Linked DNA regions of Homo sapiens: region 2 is linked to region 1. Evidence: promoter capture Hi-C in human tissues and cell types (Jung and others, 2019). All regions are on one chromosome and are shown on one strand. The core of a region is centred on a gene start or on the middle of the fragment in contact, and the rest is flanking DNA. Distances in the headings are between cores, read along the strand shown. Region 1 holds the start of SPPL3 (signal peptide peptidase like 3). Region 2 overlaps RNF10 (ring finger protein 10).

The links. The method cuts DNA at HindIII sites, captures the fragments that hold promoters and counts their contacts. A contact is called where the count stands out against the background at its distance.
Region 2: a fragment that was not itself captured here is called in contact with the fragment with the promoter of SPPL3 in region 1 in 1 of the 25 tissues and cell types used here (dorsolateral prefrontal cortex).

What each region holds. Positions count from the first base shown.
Region 1 is chr12:120,901,734-120,906,432 of GRCh38, reverse strand. It overlaps SPPL3 (signal peptide peptidase like 3), which reads left to right and starts at 2,075. Exons shown (of 11, transcript NM_139015.5): 1 at 2,075-2,588. The coding sequence starts at 2,566. XLOC_009911 (a long non-coding RNA gene) reads right to left here and starts at 1,738. Exons shown (of 2, transcript NR_131215.1): 1 at 1,661-1,738. RefSeq lists silencers at 1,876-2,235, 2,316-2,535, 2,676-2,725. The HindIII fragment of the contact is 15,749 bases long and covers 1-4,699 here.
Region 2 is chr12:120,537,673-120,542,655 of GRCh38, reverse strand. All of the region lies in intron 1 of RNF10 (ring finger protein 10), which reads right to left. Among named protein-coding and RNA genes, the nearest start is that of RNF10, 5.8 kb to the right of the region's middle. The HindIII fragment of the contact is 6,302 bases long and covers 1-4,983 here.

The DNA.
Region 1 (4,699 bases), core at 826-3,325:
CATGATCCACCTGCCTTGGCCTCCCAAAGTGCTGGGATTACAGGCGTGAGCCATCGCGCCCGGCCTGGACCTCAATCTCATCAGTGAGCCTTTTCCCAGGGCTCTCTGATAGAGCTTTGGAGGAAACACTTGGAACCTAACTGGTCCTGGCACCTGGCAGTGGGGGAATAAGGAAGGAGAGCTTTGCTTCTGAAGGGAAAGTGTACTTGGCTTTCTCTTTAAAGGGTTTCCCTTGGGGAACAGGCAAGCGGCAGATGTATGGGCAATGGCCAACTGATCCATTTGGAGATAGATTCAGGGTGTGGTGTTCCCTGTAAGCCTGGGCAGGCCCTGGGAAACTGGAGCAGAGCTAAATTCTGGCCTAAAGTTGGGCAAGCTGCAGAGAAGCTTGAGTACGTTGGTTTCAGGTGTGTGAGTTTTGCCTTCTGCAGAGAAACAGGGGGGTGAAGGGTGGGGGTGGAGGGGTGTCCAGGAGGGTTAGTGTATCTGTTGCCCAGGCATGTTTCTAAATTCTGAAGCTGCACTGGTTAATCATTTTTATTCATGAACACAGTAACTGGCAAGGAGGCTTAGCTGGGCCCTCAAAGTCTGGCCTCAGTGCACCTTCTCAGTATATTTTCTCAACACTCCAGCACAAATCACCCATCCCACTCTCGGATTCAAGCTCACCAGGAATTGGGCCTTACTTCATGCCATTCTTTCTTTCTAGAATGCCTTTTCTTTTTTTTTTTTCTTTTTCTTTTTCTTTTTCTTTTTTTTTTTTTGAGACAGAGTCTCGCTGTTGCCCAGGCTGGAGTGCAGTGGCGCAATCTCGGCTCACTGCAAGCTCTGCCTCCGGGGTTCACGCCATTCTCCTGCCTCAACCTCCTGAGTAGCTGGGATTACAGGCGTCCACCACCACGCCCGGCTAATTTTTTGTATTTTTAGTAGAGACAGGGTTTCACCGTGTTAACCAGGATGGTCCCGATCTCCTGACCTCATGATCCACCCACCTCGGCCTCCCAAAGTGCTGGGACTACAGGCGTGAGCCACCGCGCCCGGCCAAAAGAATGACTTTTCTTTGATAAGCCTCTCACCCTTTCAGACGGCCTCATCCACTCCTGGGGAAGCATTCCGCAGTACCTGGGGCCTCAATTAATCTCTCTCTTCTCTCTCCATCTAAGCTCCAGATTCACTTTGTTGGTCTCTGGTCTAGCTCTACCGTGTTTATTTCTGTGCCGGTTTCCAGACCTCCAAATGGACGGTTTCCTGAGCCTTCTGCCCTTGCTGTTCCCTCTGCCAGGAACTCTTTTCCTGTGGATCTTTGCAAGGCCAGCTCTCTGTCATCATTCAATATCAGCTCAAATGTCACCTCCTAAGCGAGGCCTTCCTTGACCACCCTATCTAAAGTAACCCACACCTCTGCTCACTCTCTGTCCCCTCACCTTGTGTTACAAAATGTGTTTTTGTAAAACTTAGCAGCATCTGAAATTATCTTATTTGTGGGCTTGGACTATGTCTCTTCCTTTAGAATGTAAGCTCTAGGAAGGCAGAGTGAGTTGACACATGGTTGGCACCCAACAAATATCTGTTGATTGATTCTGTGAAGGCAAGCGTGGGGTATTCGACTTGGTGCCGGGCCTGGGCGCAATAAAGGTTGGCTGCCTGGAATATTTGCTACCTGAATGAATGAACCAAGGAACATACGAACGAAGGAATGCAGCCCTCTGCCTGTTGACTGACAGGTTGACTGACAGTTGGGGGGCCCGTGGCCAGCAGACTGTTGACTGACGGTTGACAGCTGAGTGGCAGCCAACAGACGCGCATCGGGGTTCCCGATTGGCTGGTGCAGCAGCCCCTCGGAGAGGGGCGGAAGAGGGTACCCGAGGCGACATCTCCGCGTGGGGAGGGGGGCGGCACCAGGCAGCGGGAGGCGGCCCAACTGCTCTGGCTGTGCGAGCAGCAGCCGCCTAGAACCCAGGAGCCGACGTCTCTGCGCATGGGCCCGGCTCGAGGGGCGGGGCGCGCATCACGTGAGCGTGTTTTGGGCACGTGACCCGCGCGGGGCCAAGGCTCGCCCCCGCCCCCGCCCCTCCTCCCCTCGGCGGGTGTGATCGAGTGGCCTCGCCTCATCGCCTAGCGCCCCCCTCAGTCGCCGCCGCCTCCGCCCGCCGGCCATGTCCCCCGGCCGCCGCCGCCGCCGCCCGAGCGCGGCGCTCCCGCGGCCCCGCGCGCAGTGAGCGCGGGCCCGTCTTGCCGTTCGCCCGCCCCAGGGCCCCCTTGTTCTCCGCGCCGCCGCCGCCGCCATGTTGGGTTTGGAGCTGCAGCGGAGCCGCCGCCGCCGCCGCGGGTGAGGGAGGCCGAGAGCGGAGCCCGCCCCGCCCCGGGGCCCAGGGAGCGGGGCCGCTTCGGAGCCCGGCCTCTCCCCGCCAGCCGCCTTCCCGGCCCGCCGTGCAGCCAGCGAGCCAGCGAGCGAGCAAGCAAGCAAGCACCGGACCCCGGCCGCGCCTTCAGCTACGGCCCGAGCGAGCCCGCCGCCGCCGGGCCCGGCCACAGCCTGCAGCGGAGCCCACGAGAGGCAGCGCCATGGCGGAGCAGACCTACTCGTGGTGAGTGCGGGGCTCCGGGAGGCCGGGAGGCGGCAAGGGTGGGGGTCGGGGCGCCGGCGCGGCCCGCCGAGGGGAAGAGGAGGAAGAACAGGTGCGTGTCGTGGGGGGGGGGCGCGGGTTGGGGTGCACGCCCCCCTCTTCCCCACCGGAGGGGGCGGCTGGCGCGCACGGAGGGCGGTGAGTGGCCGGGGACCTGGCGTCCGAGAAGGGGAATGGAGGAGGAGGCAGCGGCGGATGTCATCTGGCTATGGGCGGAGCAGGTGATGGAGAAGGGGAGCATGACCCCGGGGGTGGGAATCCCACGGATGGGAAGTTGAATCCGACAGGCACCCCGGAACTGACTCGTGGGGGTGTTTCCTGGGCAGGAGGACTCGAAGGGGTGGAGAGAGGCAGGCCAGGGCAAAGGTGGGCCGCTGGGCTGAGAGGAAGCTCTAGTGAGAACAGGTGATAGAGGCAGAACTTCTAAGTTGGGAGAGTGGAGCGGCCGCCGCTTGGCTCTGGGACAGGGAGCGCAGGGAGAGTTGGTGAGGTGGGCAGAGGCCCGGGAGTGAGGGGAGGAAAACTGCGGGGGTAGAGTCCACGAACCTTGGAGGGGAGTCACTGGTGAAGAGGTTGGAAGAGGAGCCTGAAGAACCTGTTTCCTTTTCCTTCTGGAAAAGGAATTCGTTGGTGACAGTGGGGCATGGGCAGAGTCTTTGTAAGGGTTGGTACTATTATTTTCAGAGGAATGGCGCCCAGGGCCAAGTGTGGAGGTGGAGGACCTGCAAGTTAAGTTCATTTCTGTGGGGCTTTTAAAGTTAGTAAGTAGCTCGTTAAGGGCCGAGAAGCGAGAAGCTACTGTGTAGTTTATGGGGTGACAACCTACATATCCGGAGAAGGGAGTGCCAGGGTTTGGGGGAAGGAACATGAGGGGTCTCCCTTTAGCATGTAGAGGTGGGATATTTGCAGGACGGGTTGAAGGAATGATGGCAGTATCCATGAAGAGTGGAAATCGGGTAGTGAGAAGGAAGTCATAGCTGGAGAGTGAGGAAGCAAGAAATGGCATGATCGTAGGAGTGGGGGACCTGATTGCAATTTAGAGAAATGGTTTGAAGATGGTTTACTCTTGAAGCAAATGTGGTTTGGGACAGAACTGTAGACATTCCCTTCTTAGAAAAGAGCATAATAGAATGGGACGAGCATGCCGTGTGGAGTTGGAAGACCTATTTCGGAGGTCCGGTTTGCCACCAACTTGCTTTGTTGATACGACATGGTAGTGAGTTCTTCGGTCCTTTTTCCTTACCTATAAAATAGAGGGAATTACCTTTTCCACAGCCTGTAAGGATTAAGTGAGTACATTTAGAAAGCACTTGGCAAACTGTGAAGTGCCACAGATCTTACTACATTAATTATAATTATCCTAGAGAAACATCTAAGAAATGGGTAATATCAGAAAATAAGGAATGGTTTTAGGTAGAAGACTTTGAGTGGATTATTTATAGTGTTAGAGGTTATAAGTCAGTAACTCATTGAGTCTTCACATAAGAGAAAGGGAGTTGGGGATTGAAGATGATAATTCTTAAGAGAACTTCATTGATGTATGTGCAATCTCAAGAAGAAGGTAACTGAGAGACAAAGTAACCCTAAAGGAAGAATTAAAATCTTGGTGAACACGTGCTCTAAAAAGAGGTTTAAGCTAATTTCATAGTTTTGCGTGACAGCTGCCTTTCAGTAGCAGGTCGTAGGGAACACAAGATTACAATTTCAGCTTCCTTCTGGACAGAGTAAGAAATGAAGGTAAAGGTGTTTCTGTCATGCCTTGTGGTTACTCATCTTGAGCTTCTCATACTCTGGCCCTAATGGCTGTGGCCCTGAGAGTCCTAATGGCTGCTTTGCTGTTTTTACTGTGCTGTACAGAGGCCCTGGATGGTTGAAAGAATAGAAAACTCAGTGGTCAAGAAATGGGGAAAATGAAAATGTTTTACTAGGTAGGTTGGACACACACGACCTCTCTCTGACATTAGTTGGCTCTATTAAGGAGGGATTACTTTGTGAAGTTTGACAATTTACAAATTTATTCTACTAAAATACTTCCTTCAATGTCAGCTCTGTTTGCTTTACAGGCAAAGAAA
Region 2 (4,983 bases), core at 955-3,454, 360 kb after region 1:
ATTTGAACCCGGGAGGCAGAGGTTGCAGTGAGCTGAAATCACGCCACTGCACTCCAGCCTGGGCAGCAGAGTGAGACTCTGTCTCAAAAAACAAATAAATAAAGTTAGAACTTAAAAACTAAACTTTTACCTATTACTTCAGTTAGCAACAGTTAGTGTCAAACATGGCACTAGTAGTAACAATTAGAAAGCAAAGTTTCAGCGCTGGACTTGGTGGCTCATGCCGGTTGTCTCAACACTTTGGGAAGCCAAAGCAAGAGGATCACTTGAGTCCACGAGTTTGCGACCAGCCTGGGCAACATAGCAAGACCCCATCTCTACAAAAAATTTAAAAATTAGCCCAATGTGGTGGCACACACCTGCAGTCCTAGCTGAGAGGCTGAGTTGGAAGGATTGCTTAAGCCAAGGTTGAGGCTGCGGTGTGCTATGATGGCACCACTGCTCTCCACCCTGGGCTACAGAGTGAGCCTCTGTCTCAAAAAAAGAAAAAGGCCAGGCACGGTGGCTCACGCCTGTAATCCCAGCACTTTGGGATGCTGAGGCGGGTGGATCACGAGGTCAGGAGATCAAGACCATCCTGGCTAACATGGTGAAACCCTGTCTCTACTAAAAATACAAAAAATTAACCAGGCGTGGTGGCGGGAGCCTGTAGTCCCAGCTACTCAGGAGGCTGAGGCAGGAGAACGGTGTGAACCTGGGAGGCGGGGCTTGCAGTGAGCCAAGATTGCACCACTGCACTCCAGCCTGGGAGACACAGTGAGACTCCATCTCAAAAAAAAAAAGAAAAAGATAAACCAGGCACAGTGGTTCAAGAGTTCAAGGATCTCTTAAGCCAAGGAGTTCAAGGTTTCAGTCAGTTATGTTTGCACCACTGCATGCCAGCCTAAGTGACAGAGCGAGAGCTTGTCTCTAAAAAAAAAAAAGCCAGGCACGATGGCTCATGCTTGTAATCCCAGCACTTTGGGAGGCCAAGGCAGGTGGATCACGAAGTCAGGAGATAGAGACCATCCTGGCTAACATGGTGAAACCCCATCTCTACTAAAAATACAAAAAATTAGCCAGGCTTGGTGGCGGGCGCCTGTAGTCCCAGCTGCTCGGGAGGCTGAGGCAGGAGAATGGCGTGAACCCGGGAGGCGGGGCTAGCAGTGAGCGGAGATCGTGCCACTGCATTCCAGTCTGGGCGACAGAGTGAGACTCCGTCTCAAAAAAAAAAAAAAAGGAAAACTCAGGGGATGCAGAACCCCAGCTAACTCAGCCACATTCTCTTGCTTTGCTTTCCTTAACTCCATTTCACATCACCTCAAGCAAAGGAGATTCTACGAGGATAGGTATATAAAGAAAACACATATCCTCCAACCTCATTATCCAAGACTGTTTCAGATGATCCTGGACCCTACCTGTTTGACCCTAACTGCTGCTTTCAAGATGCACCTCACGGTTTGCATAGATTTAGGTAAAGCCAGATTCTACATGGCAAGGGCTTATTAAGAAAGTAAAATGGCCAGACACGGTGGCTCATGCCTATAATCCCAATGCTTTGGGAGGCCGAGGCGGGCGGATCACCTGAGGTCGGGAGTTCGAGACCAGCCTGACCAACATGGAGAAACCCCGTCTCTACTAAAAATACAAAAAATTAGCTGGGCATGGTGGCGCATGCCTGTAATCCCAGCTACTCCGGGGGCTGAGGCAGGAGAATAGCTTGAACCCGGGAGGTGGAGGTTGCGGCAAGGCCGAGACTGCACCACTACACTCCAGCCTGGGCAACAAGAGCAAAACTCTGTCTCAAAAAAAAAAAAAAAAAGAAAGTAAACTGGCACTCAGCAAGAAGGCTGTCTTCATTTCTTCACTTATTACCACACTGGCAAGGAAACAGTTTCATAATGCTTACAGAAATGCTCACTGATAAGACAGTAAACTGCTCATTTCCAAAACACATAACAACTGACCACATCATGATTAGTGATTTTAGTTGCCAAAATCAACTCGTTTCTCGTCTTCCAGTTACCTAAGGGTATGAAGACAGATATGTCAAGTGAGAGACTGGCTCTTATCTCTAGACCCAGGCAAAAGGCAGCTAAAGGTTGAAGGTACCATCAGGCCTGGGACCCAGAGATAAAATTCAGAGTATTATTTTTGAAATGTTTTGTGGACAACTTGCCAGGATATACATGGGAAAAACTCGAGGGTAGAACAGGAGTGATAAGATGATCCACTTTAGATTTTGGAAAACAAAAAATATCAAGTTCCTGGGAGAAGGAACTATGGGTGAAGTTTTAAATCTCAGAGTGGTGGTTCTCAATCCTGGCTGCACACCAGAATCACTTGCACAGACTTTTTAAATTATGAATGCCCAGGACCCACGGGTTCAATCTAGGCTTAAAGAATCAGAAAAAGGCCAGGCACAGTGGCTTATGCCTGTAACCCCAGCACTTTGGGAGGCTAAGGTGGGAGGATCATTTGAAGCCAGGAATTTGAGACCAGCCTGGGCAACATGGTGAGACCCCCATCTCTACAAAAAAAAAAAAGATAATAAATTCCTAGGAAGGGGCCCCACACACCCCTATTTTTTTTTTTTTTAAGTTCCTCATGAGGTCAGGAGTTTGAGACCAGCCTGGCCAACATGGCGAAACCCATCTCTACTAAAAATACAAAAATTAGGCCGGTGTGGTGGTGGACACCTGCAATCCAGCTACTCAGGAGGCTGAGGCAGAAGAATTGCTTAAACCGGGAAGGCAGAGGTTAAAGTGAGCTGAGATCGCGCCACTGAACTCCAGCCTGGGTGACAGAGCAAGACTGTCTTGAGGGAAAAAAAAAAGTTCCTGAGGAGATTCTGATGCACAGCCACCACTGAGAACAACTGCCAAGAACTACTGTCAAGACACATTCCAAAATGGACAAGACCACTAAACTCAGGCTCCAGAGTCGACAAATAAATGACTTAAAAACTTAACCCAGCTTCTCAGTTGTTCCACATTTCCCTAATGGAAAGGTCTCCACCAAGTAGCAGTAGGTATATCTCAGCCTCCCCCCATTACCAAATTAAGGGCCACAAGTTTTTCACAGTTAAATTACTTGGCATCTTCATTTCTAGCTCTAGTTCTAACAGGTGGCTCGGCCTAGAGGTCAGAATACCAGTCAGCAAGTTTCTGCTGCTGATTCATGCTGTAATCACAAGCAAGTTGCTTACCCATCATCCAGAGTAGTTGACAAGCACCTCCAGAGGGGCAACATATGGCCTTACTACAGAATCAACTGACAACAAATTGAATCCAGCTGAAATTAGTAATTCTGAATGAAAGGAAGAGAGAGGTGGTATCAGGAATGATGCACATGCCAGTAAGTTATCTGCTTGCTAAGTGTGATTATACAAAGCTTATTGAAAAATACCGCCTAGGACTTCATAAAAATTTACTTGGACAAATCACTCTTAACACTGCTAAGCCTCTATTTTCTTTTCTGTGAAACAGGACTAATATTCTACCATACTTCCTCATAGAATCATGAGGATTAAGAAAGAAAACTTCTGTAAAATGCCTACCATAGTGGCTGACACACAGTTTTACTATGATTTGAAAGCCTATCATTAATAAATCCAAAGCGTTCCTGTCAAGAGCACCCACTAGACTTCCAATGAAGCCATATAAACCAAGGAATCCAGCCAACGGGCCCTGAAATTCTTTTAATTTCTCTAAGTGGTTTTACTGAAGGCTTCAAATCACCTCAATTTTCAAAGCCATTAAAATCTCCAGGTCCATTTACAGCTCAGAGGCATTCTTCAAGGCAGATTACCACTAGTAACCTGGTTTCTGGTACCAGAATAACAGGAAGAATGCCAGGGCAGTGCTTCATACCACCAACCTCAAAATAACTGCCTCATAATACCTGACCTTCCCTTAACCTCCCTGGCAGTTCTATCGGCCCAGGGGGATGGGACAAGAGCCTGGTTCCTGGCCAGAGTCCACTGCCTGCCCATAAACGGCCTACCTTCTCTCTTGCCTCTCTTTCTTTGCTCCCTCTAAATGACTTTCCCCACTTTCTAACCCACCTTCTCTCCTCTGAGCTATATTCACAGGATATTTACTGCTGCATGTTCTCAGAAATACCTATTAACACTACTGGAATGAAGCTGTAGGAATATAATCAAGAAAAGGAATGTTATATAAATGTTCAGGCAATTAGCCCAGGCAAAGAAACTGTGGTATGCGACTCTAGCCGGAAAGATCAAGAAAATCCTGGTAGCCAAATTTACATATTTCCTGTGTACAAATGAAGGGCAAATTTAAGCCAGCCACTGGAACAAAATCTCAAAGAAATTAATCATGTAGCTAGGAAGCAAATGGCCATTAATGACAGTTTACAGAATAGAAACCAAAGGGCTTTCTTCCACGAGGTAGAAAAGGGGGAGAAAAAAAGTGACTTAAATATTTGAATACTGAAAACTCTTGCTCTTTTCACCTTGACAAAAGATAAACTATCTTTTCACCTTACGCTTGTTTTCCCCTCAACTCAGTACTCTGTAATTCAAGAGGTCCTTTCAATGATTCCCAGCAGAATCAAGTATATGAAGTGTTCAGCTTATGAGATACTGCAGAAATCTTTTTATGGGATTATGCGGAGCTTGAGTGTACCCTTTTGTTAGAGCAACCATCTCATCGTGAAGTCACTGCATCAGAGCTCCTGAGTATCTGCTGTAGTAGCACTGGTCTTAGCTGTTACGTTCCTAAGGCAGCTTAGTTTCAACTTTAAAAATCAGCCAATATCCAGTTTCCTAACCTTTTAATCTCCACATATCCTGCCTTTTAATTTGTTCCTAAATGCAAGCAGTGGATTATGGCTAGTGAAGAAGCATGGATTTGGCTACAAAGCCCATCCTTCCTTGCTAAACGAACACGCACAGCAGAAGCCAGAAAAGCAGACACTGGCGGTGGCAAACATGGTCAAGCTTTCTAACACACACATTAAACAAAAAAAAAAGAATGCTGC